2 separate regions of the Homo sapiens genome follow, and region 1 is linked to region 2. The links are contacts of gene promoters, found by promoter capture Hi-C in blood cells and fetal thymus (Javierre and others, 2016). All regions are on one chromosome and are shown on one strand. Each heading gives the region's core, a stretch centred on a gene start or on the middle of the fragment in contact. The rest is flanking DNA. Distances are from core to core; before and after follow the strand shown. Region 1 overlaps RBM26 (RNA binding motif protein 26). Region 2 holds the start of NDFIP2 (Nedd4 family interacting protein 2).

Region 1 (5,251 bases), core at 820-3,319, 120 kb before region 2:
AAAGTCAGCTTACTAAAAAATATCCTATCTTAAAACTTTATGTTTTAAATTTGATTTTAAATTTTATTTTCTTTGATGACAGTCTCAACCTCTTTCCCGCTTTATTTAAAAAAAGAAAAAAAGAATTGTTGGAACTATAAAGAATACATTTTGACACTTGAAGAAAGGACAAAACTGTGGCCTAGAGAGGTTACTCTGCATTAAATCACAGAATTAATCACAAACAACTAGAAACTATCCATTATTAAGTAGATGTTAAAGCTCTAAAAGTGATCCTAGTCTCTCTTCACAGATTTATTTATAAATGAATCACCTCACACATATCTTAACATTCTGATTCCTTACCCCTTTATCTGAAGCTCTTTCTTGACCATTCAATGCCTAGACAGCCTCTCCAACCCCCACAAAAGCCCTTTCTAGCTCCTACCTAGCAGGAACTGCCTACATATGAAAGTCTCTTGACAGGTCTGATCTATACCTCCTTCCTCTAATGATGAGAGGCTCATGACTATCCTGTATATAGCTAGTATTCAACAGGTCTAAGTTAAAGAGTGGGTTTTTTGGAGGAGGGTAAATGATAAGAGGAAAAAATTATGCCCTGAACTACCACACCATTTCTGTAAGAAAATGCTTTTCTAACATCAGACAACTAACTTGCCAATTTTTAGAAAACTCACACTTGGGGATTGCTTACAGAACAGAGTAACATTTTTGGAAGAAACCAAACCATATTGTCATAATAATACAGAAATGATCCTGAAAATCAATGCACAATTATACTCCTCAATTTTCCTGGCCACCTTACTTATCAAACCAAGTCTTCTTTGTAGGAACTCCAGGCTCTCCAGAACCAATGGTTCTTTTCCTTGATTCTGAGTCCACTACTATCCTCATACTGCTTTTATTGGGAGGCTTTTCTGTTTTAAAACAAAAGAAAATGAAAAAAATAAGCATAGGTTAATATTTTCTATTTATCATAGATACCTTCCTCATACAGGAAAATTTCTGGCTTTTGTCTAAATATATATATATATATATAATTTTTTTTTTAGAAGAAATAGAAATAAATGTATAGTAGCTCCCCCTTATCCAGTTTCATTTTTACGATTTCAGTTATCTCTAGTCAACCACAGTCCAAAATTATGGAAAACTACAGAAATAGTAAACAATTCCTAAGTTTTAAACTGCCTGCAGTTCTGAGTAGTGTGATAAAATCTCACACCATCCTGCTCCAACACTTGATCTCATCATGTAGGCATTTTATCATCCCCTATCATCCCAAGAAGGGTAAATACAAAAAGATATTTGACAGAGAAAGACAGGGACCATTCACATAACTTTTATTATAGTATATTGTTATAATTATTTCATTTTATTATTAGACATTGTTGTTTAGCTCTTACTGTGTCTAATTTATAAGTGAAACTTTATCACAGGTGTGACTGTATAGGAAAAAGCATAGTATATGTAGGGTTTGGTACTCTGTGGTTTTACACACGAGGAGTCTTGGAACATATCACCCACAGACAAAGGGGAATTACTGTACATTCAAATACAGTAATCTAAGGGTTTTTTCAAACTTATTTCAACATATTCATTTCACAATTAACTATGAAAAAGAATCAATTCTCACATGCCAAATTAAAATGTGATTCTGTAGGTCACTTCTTTGTAGATAAAACCCAAGTCATTGTTCCCATCTACCATCACCCTCACCACAAATATATATATATATATCAATGCACAAATGAGAAAATAATCACTTTGAGGCTTTAAGTTCATAGTTTTGAAATCAAATGCACAATCTAAAAGATTCAAAACTTTACACTAATCCAATAATCTTTGAGAAGTGAAAGGTTAGAGTTATGATTGAAGTGAGCTGCTTTTAAATATGGAATAGACTCATAAAATATGAATGTAATGAAAGCATACTTGCTTTAAAAAAGGAAAAGATTCAAGTCTAAAATACAGTGTAAAAGAGCTGTAAAAGTCTGTTACTTTCAACATTTTATATTTACTTACATGGCATGTAATGAGCATAGTACATTTAACCTGTTATTCCCAAATGACTCCAAAGTTTAAAACATGCAAACCTTAATCCACATAGAAAAATGTAACTTAAAAACTCCTTTTTTATAGATGGCAAAATTGATTTGTCTAAAATCCTATTTTTACATATTTCTAAACACCTAACTAACCAAAAGAACTGAAGATCTGTTTCAGCACAATATCTCTCATGGCCACAGCTATGGTCTCCTGCAGGAGGAGAGCATATACTCAATTCTAAATTTTCAACTTCTTTGTTCTCTCTGGAAATCCTACAGGTATCTCAAAACTCACTATGCAGAACGTTCAAATTATTTTCATATTAAGTCTATCTTTTATTTTTCTTAAACATTTCTATTAATGAAACTACCATTTTCCCAATCATCCCAGTCAAGTCATATTTGATATATGACTACCCACATATGCCATACATACAGAGACTCAAATCAACGCTCTAGACTCCTGCTGCTTTCCTCCATTTTCAACCTTTCCCAGGACACTGATACCTCCCATCAACATTCAAACATTACAGCTCTAATTACTCCATTTTAAAAAAAAGAAACTCTCGTAAAACCAGTTTTCCCTTTAGCAACAACATCTCTCTCCATACTCCCACAGCCCTTTCCTAATCAATGTCCACACTTACTAACTTTGCTTCCTTAACACCCACTCACTAATCCTCTGAAAACTGGCAGTTGCTCCCATTACTTCACTTTACTTGCTCGTGCTAAAATCACTCATGTCCTCACCTGTTGCTTAAGCCTATGAATACATCCCAGTCCTCTTACTGGACCTCTCAGGAGAATTTGCGGCTGTTGATCATCTTCTTTTCCATCTTAGGTATTATATTCCCTGGGTTTTTAGGAATCCCCACTCCTTGCTTTTGTCTGCAGCTTTTGGGCTTCATTTCTAAGTTTTCTATAAAGTTCTCCTTTCTCTGTCCATTTACTTTGATGCTGACATTTGTCAAGTAGTTATACTTGGGTTTTCTCATCTCACTTTACATAGCCTTCCTAAAATAACTTTCTTATCTACTGCCATGGCTTCATTCATCTTTTTCAGTGATTCTCAGTGGGGATGGGGAGAGGAAGATTTTAGAAACGCACGAGAAAGGTTTTTAAAATTATGTTAAGTCAGACCTACAGATTTTGGTATGGCTCCTTCTATCTCCCTTTACCTCCCACTGGTACTAATGGGACAGAAGAAAAGATTAAGGACCAAAGTTCTACATATGCATGATTCCAAAATCTGTATATTCTAGTCAACTGTCTCTCATGGGCCTCAGACTTCCATATCCTATTTCCCACTGGACATTTCTACTCAAATGCCCCAGGGGGACAAGAAGTTAAACACTTTCAAAACTAAATTTATCTTTCTGTCAAAGCTGTCCTTCTCAATGAATGATATTATCATCTGCCCAATTATCCAGGGCAGGAAACGGGTGTCTAATTTCATCCACTTATTACCCCTATTCTAAGCCTCCAAATTAAATAAGTTACAAGTTTTGTCAATTCTTTCCACTAAACTTATTTTTTTCATTTCTATTATTACCCTAGCCCAGCTACTATCACCTCTATTCTAAAATTCTGTAAATGCTTTTAATTAGCCTCTTACCTCCCTCTACATTACTTACTTCTTCTCTTACAGTCACAAAATTCCTTCAGTTTCTCAAAAGTATCACAGGGTACATAGGCTGTATCTATTCTCTTCCTCTGTCTAACTCTGACTTATCCTACATCTCTAGGAAACATCCTGTATCTAGCACGTGCGATGTTTCTCTGTCCAGTGGTACCTTCCAAGGACCGGTTCTGCAAAAGGATTTTTGGTCTTATTCCTGTCTCCCAAGTCTGGTTCACCAGCCCTTTTGGAGAATCTGTGACCTATCCAACATCTTTTGTTTTTTACTTTAATATGTTCCGTACCTGAAGGTTCACTAAGAGAGGGAATAATGTGTTTTGCCTCCAGTAATTGAAATGGGTTTGCTCCATCTCATCTGTATTCTCTAATTCGGAATCCCTTTCATTGATATATATTTAAAAGAAGGGTATTAAAAACACAGAAGCAAGTTCCTCTTGGTATATACTCAGCAAATGATCTAATATTAAATAGTTTTATGTAATGTATTTTTCCCCAATAATCATTTTAATGAATTGTTTTTCTGCCTAAAATTGTCAGCACTGGTTTTGTTGACTAGAAATGGAAAACTACTTAACCCTTCCTCCTCCCTATATCCAATCATGACATCATCCATCAAGTTTTCCACCTCCTTAGAACTCTGCAAAAAATAACTGTCAGGGCCTCTAGGTAACTTTTACATTAGTAATTTCAATGCATCAAAGGGCCCAAATTTCTTTCCTTTTGCTGAATAATTGCCCTCAAAATTTAAAGCAGTAAGCATAAAAGTTTAACTATCACATAATAATAAGTCTATGACAAATTTAAATTAAGGCCATCTATAGGCTATTAGGAACGTGTAATAATTATATAATTAACAATAAATAAGCTTTTTATGTATCTGTCACAATCCAGGACAGTAAATTTAAAATCCAAACTGGGAATAGATGAGAACACATGGTGGGAGGAGGGAGAGGACTAAAAAGAGATAAGAAAACAGAAGGACTAAAGGCAATCCTCAATTTGGATGGGTTGCTAAATCAGTTGTTTGGTACATAAAATCACTGTTATTAATGGAAAAATCAATCCTAAACTAGCTAACAAAAATGGTACATGATGTATCTAAAGAAGAGTACTAAAATAATCACTATGTACAATAATGATTCTATGAGAAAAAGCATTCAAATTTCTAAGTAGGTATGACAGACATTTCTCTCTCAACAGGATCACTTTCTGTAACAATATGCATTAAGAGCTGAAATTACCACACATCCAACTTGTACATGGTAAGATTTAAATGCAAGGGGTTTGATCCCCTTGCTTCTCTTGATCACAACCAGAAATTGCCCTAGCATGTGAATGGATCTAATAAATATTGACCTGTAGTAGCATGTATTTACAGCTCCAAAGCAGCAAGGTAGAAAGAAATGACTTTAGTGGGAATCCCCAGTAAAATGTTAATTGAAGTGGAAATTCCCACTACAAGGTTCCCAGTAAAAGCAAGGAATATTGGTATGAGGAAAACAAACTACATGCTAAATAGTTATCCAAAGAAGAAAAGAGGGTTTCTGTGAACTAGCCAGGTGGGAGA
Region 2 (4,781 bases), core at 2-2,501:
CCCTTTCCTTCCCTTCAGGGCGCTCCACTGTAAGATCATTTAGGGAAAATGTGGTGTTATGTTAAAAACATAGCTGGGCCACATCAAGCAGCATCATAGTTTTTAGGGTATAGAACGTTGGTCTTCAGGTTAAAAGGTACTTTTCGCTGCTCTGTCATACTCTTCTACTTGCTAGAGAAATATGCTTTATGCCGTGTCATGTGTGGTTAACCAGACAGTGAGATACTACTAACAGTGCTCCCAAGTGATTCCTTGCTGTTAAATCAATTGGAATTATTGAGTATTACCACAAAATAATCCTATCTGATTTCATTACTTTCTTCTAACGTCCTTCCAGTAACCTAGAACTCTAGAGACCTCTTTCTTTGAGAGTTGTCTGGAGAGTCCGTTGGATTTTTAAATCTCTTATTACCAAAAAGTGGAAAAAAGAGTTTAAAAAGTAACCAAAGAGCTAGTGCCTGTAGTCTCAGCTACTCCAGAGGCTGAGGCAGGTGGATAGCTTGGGCCGAGGAGTTCGAGGCTACAGTGAGCCATGACTGCGCCTGCTAACAGCCACTGCACTCCAGTCTGGGCAATATAGTGAGACCCCATCTCTAAAAAAACAACAAACAAAAACAAAAATTACCCCACAGAAGAATTTCAGGGCAGTGGAAATACTCTGTAGGATACTATAATGATGGATACCTGCCATTACACATTTGTTCTAACTCGAGGAGTATACAACAACCTGAGTGAACCCTGAGGTAACTATGGACTTTGAGTGATGATGAGGTGTCAATGCAGGTTCATCAGTCGTAACACATGTACCACTCTGAGGGGGGATGTTGATAATGGTGGGGGGTTATGCATGCGTAGGAGCCAAGTGTATATGGGATATCTCTGTAACTTCTCAATTTTTCTGTAAACTCTAACTACTCTATATTAGTCTTTAAAAAATCGCTTATCTTACGAATGATTTTGAATAAGCGTTTTGGGAATGTTCTAGAGATGAATCTCCTCCCCATGTCCTACGCTGGGTGAGGAAGTGTCGGGTACCCGGGCGACCTGTCCTCAGGTGTTCTAGGAACGCGGCCCCATCCCTTGTCAGCCTCTGTCTCTGTGTGGTGAGAAGGCGCACTGGCTCGTGCCTGCGCGAAACTCGCGCACACAGAAAAGACCAATCAAGGACGGGTCATTCCCGCCCCCCGCGCGCCTTTTGCGACCGCCCACTCGACAGGTTGACAACCTAGACAGCTCCCCCGGACTTGCCTTACTTTTCCATCTCCTCCCACCCAGCTATACCCTCCCACTGGCGGCGCGGATGGCACGCCGGCGGAGCCAGCGAGTCTGCGCGAGCGGTCCGAGCATGCTCAATAGCGCGCGCGGCGCCCCGGAGCTTCTCCGCGGAACCGCGACCAACGCGGAGGTCTCGGCGGCCGCTGCGGGAGCCACAGGAAGTGAAGAGCTTCCGCCGGGAGACCGCGGCTGCAGGAACGGAGGCGGAAGGGGCCCTGCGGCGACGACGTCGTCGACGGGGGTGGCCGTGGGAGCTGAGCACGGAGAAGACTCCCTCTCTCGGAAGCCGGATCCCGAGCCGGGCAGGATGGATCACCACCAGCCGGGGACTGGGCGCTACCAGGTGGTGAGTTCCCGGCCTCCTGTGCCTCCCGGGACTGCCTCCCGCCGCGGCGTCCCGAGAGTCCCTTTCCTCAGGTTATTCCCGGAGGAAAAGCTGTGGCTTTTTTTTGTTGTGTTTTGTTTTGTTTTTTTGGATCTTCTGGCTGGAGCTGCTTCACTCGCCTCACCTGCGCACTCCTGCCTAGGACTCCTTCGAAACCCTTCTCTCTCGCCCCAAGTCTGCTTAGCTCCTCACCCGCACCCTTAGCCCCGCTGTGAGACGCCCTCCCTCCACACACCTTACAACTTGTATCCGTTTTAATTTCTCACTTTATCATTTTCTTATTCTCTGACTCAGTCACTCCTGAGACATTCTAGTCGATTGTCTACTGGAAATGGGGCTGACTTCACATACCTGCCCGGAAGGTGATCGCCGTCATAAATGGGGTGGGTGAGTAGGTGGGTGGAGGTGTAAGTACTGCGTGGGGTGGGATGTGGATTTGGCAAAAATGTGGGTTAGGAATTGTGGAACTGTAGAGAAAGACTAGCCATAATGCTGATCTTGTCTCTCTGCTCGTTAACCTTGTCATTTTGTCCTTTTCCATTATGTTAGTATTAAAAATGACTGTATTTTTTGGTAATCCCCACTTTTTCTTTCTTTCTTTCTTTCTTTTTTTTTTTTTTTTTTTTTTTTTTGGTTAGAGGGGAAACAGAGGTAGTTTTAGTAGAACAAATTCTAATCTTGTTTGAAAAATTATTTTTCGTTAAATACAAGGTTTTCCAGCTTAACTGTGTAAACTTTGGTAACTATGTTGAAAAAAGTGAAATGTGTTCCTCTATATTTTCAGTGTCAATTTTTAAATATATTTTTCTTTGTGTATTCTGGTGGTGACGTTGGAGATTCCTGTTGTAAACCTTAGTTAAAGATGGACTGAGCAATAGTTGACTCTGCTGTTGTGCTGTTGCAGCTAGGTAGCATGTCATTCTACAAACTTTCAGCCCATTTACTGAGGGAGAGGAGAAAAACAATACATAGCACTGGTGATGCAGTTTATGGTTTATAAAATTTTACAAATTTAGGTATGTTAGTCCCAGGTTTCAACTTTCAAATCTATTTGCACATGTAAGACAGGTTATAAGCCAAGACTTTCTATTAATAAGTACATTTTGGCAAATATGAAGGAACTGTAAGATGAGATCCTAAAGTATGTAATTTTGCATTTTTCTAAGATAAAAGCTCATGAGGCTTCCATTTTCAATTGGTTTGCATTCCTTAAAACCTACAAAAGGTCCATATTCCGAATTCTTTGAAAATTTATCAGCTTTTCTCAACAACTTGGGAAATACTGTTTCTCCCAGTATGGAAAGCGTTTTTCAAGTTGTCAGTGTACACCCTTTTGATGGTTTGAAAGGCATTTCTAGGTTTGTAAATGTTAGCAAAAATAAAATGATATAAATATTGAATAATATCAGCAGTGAAACTTGTTTCATTTTTCCTACAGACGTCACTACCCAAAACACTGTTAATTTATGTAGCTCTCAGTTTTAAGATATTTGTTTTCCCAACAACTCCTTTCAAAATAAATGGGCATATTTTATTGCTGCCCCCTCCCCTCGTTTTTTTCAAACTGACGATGTGTCCTACATAGACTTTGAATGTTCCTTGAGAACAGAGGGCAAAAATCAGTTCTTCTAAAGATAAAGCCTACCAGTCCCTCTAAAGGTAGTACTTTAGGTAGGACATCGATCTGTTCTCCTTGTAAGGCAACTTACAACTAACATTGTAAGGCAATGTTAGTGTTAGAGTTACACAATTTACGTAGTCATTTAACCTATCTAGTATAACTCTTGGTTTTGTTTATAATGGCCTGATTAATAACATCAGTGTATGCCAGAGAAAAAGCTGAATTGACATTTTCAATAGACTTTTTAAACTAGGGATCAGTCTTCAGCTCTGGCTTATATGATGAACACAACTATTTTGTGGTTGCCTTTAGCTCAGTTTTTGGGAAAACTGGAATGCTTAATAAACTGGAGCAATAAACCACTTGAGTTGTTGAATGTTAAGGGATGACTAAGTCAGGAGATAGGCAAGTATACTTAGGGGTGAGATGGTATGCAATGTTAATTTTTCACTTACTTAAAGAGTTTAAAAACAGCTTTTCATACTGGAAAGCTAGCAGTGATGCTCAGGGTCATCAGAAGGACTTACTACCATTAGCCAATGCACAAGCTTTATCTAGAAACTGCTTTTTCTGTGATCTCTTCTTTCCTTTCATTGTTAAAAGCATCCAAAATTTATTGAGTAAAGCAGTGGATAACAGTTTAGAGCTACAAAAATTCTTGATTGTTACCCTTCTAATTTCAGAAAAAGCCAGGTATGACACGTAATTTTATGGGAAATTCAGTTTTGTTTGTTAGTAAATGAGCAGTGTTGCTAACTATGACGAAGTTGACTTGGCTTGCAGCTGCTAGACCACATTCTAACTTTGATGTTCGTTATTTTATTATTTATTTATTTATTTATTTTTATTTTTTGAGATGGAGTGTCTGTCACTCAGGCTGGAGTGCAGTGGCGTGATCTCGGCTCACTGCAACATCCGCCTCCTGGGTTCAAGTGATTTTCCTGCCTCAGCCTCCTGAGTCACTGGGACTACAAGTGTGGTGCACCACACCTGGCTAATTTTTGTATTTTAGTAGAGATGGGGTTTCAGCATGTTGGCCAGGCTGGTCTCGAACTCCTGACCTCAAATAATCTGCCCGCCTTGGCCTCTCAAAGTGCTGGGATTACAGGTGTGAGCCACAGAGCCCGGCCAAAGTTCTCTATTTTAAAGGATTATGTACCTGTACCAAGCTGACTTCTAAGATTGTACCTGTACCAAGCTGACTTCTTATTCTGTGTACAAGTTAAATTGGCAGTGTTGATTGTAGCAGTAATTTCCCAAACTGTATTTCAGAATGATAGTAAGTGTAACTGGAAGATTTATAATACATTAGCATATTAAAACCATGAAAAATTCTGCAGTAAAGACAGTGATTTGGATTTCTTTAACCTAGCTCTTCCTAATCTTTGTTTTGTTTTGTTCTTTGTTTTTAAAATTTTAAGATTATGTTAACATTTCTACAATATCAATTTTCTATGGAACATAATTTGAAGTATTCATTCTACAAAGATCTGAGTACTT

The links. Contacts are between HindIII fragments. The CHiCAGO score rates a contact against its expected background, and 5 or more counts as called.
Region 1: a fragment that was not itself captured here is called in contact with the fragment with the promoter of NDFIP2 in region 2 in 1 of 17 cell types (activated CD4 T cells); the score reaches 5.5 in activated CD4 T cells.

Annotation. Positions count from the first base shown.
Region 1 is chr13:79,358,770-79,364,020 of GRCh38, forward strand. RBM26 (RNA binding motif protein 26) reads right to left here. Exons shown (of 22, transcript NM_001366735.2): 10 at 806-917. Among named protein-coding and RNA genes, the nearest start is that of RBM26, 45 kb to the right of the region's middle. The HindIII fragment of the contact is 4,955 bases long and covers 1-4,547 here.
Region 2 is chr13:79,479,904-79,484,684 of GRCh38, forward strand. It overlaps NDFIP2 (Nedd4 family interacting protein 2), which reads left to right and starts at 1,252. Exons shown (of 8, transcript NM_019080.3): 1 at 1,252-1,621. The coding sequence starts at 1,301. NDFIP2-AS1 (NDFIP2 antisense RNA 1) reads right to left here and starts at 1,328. Exons shown (of 3, transcript NR_046685.1): 1 at 1,249-1,328; 2 at 1-27. The HindIII fragment of the contact is 10,753 bases long and covers 1-3,827 here.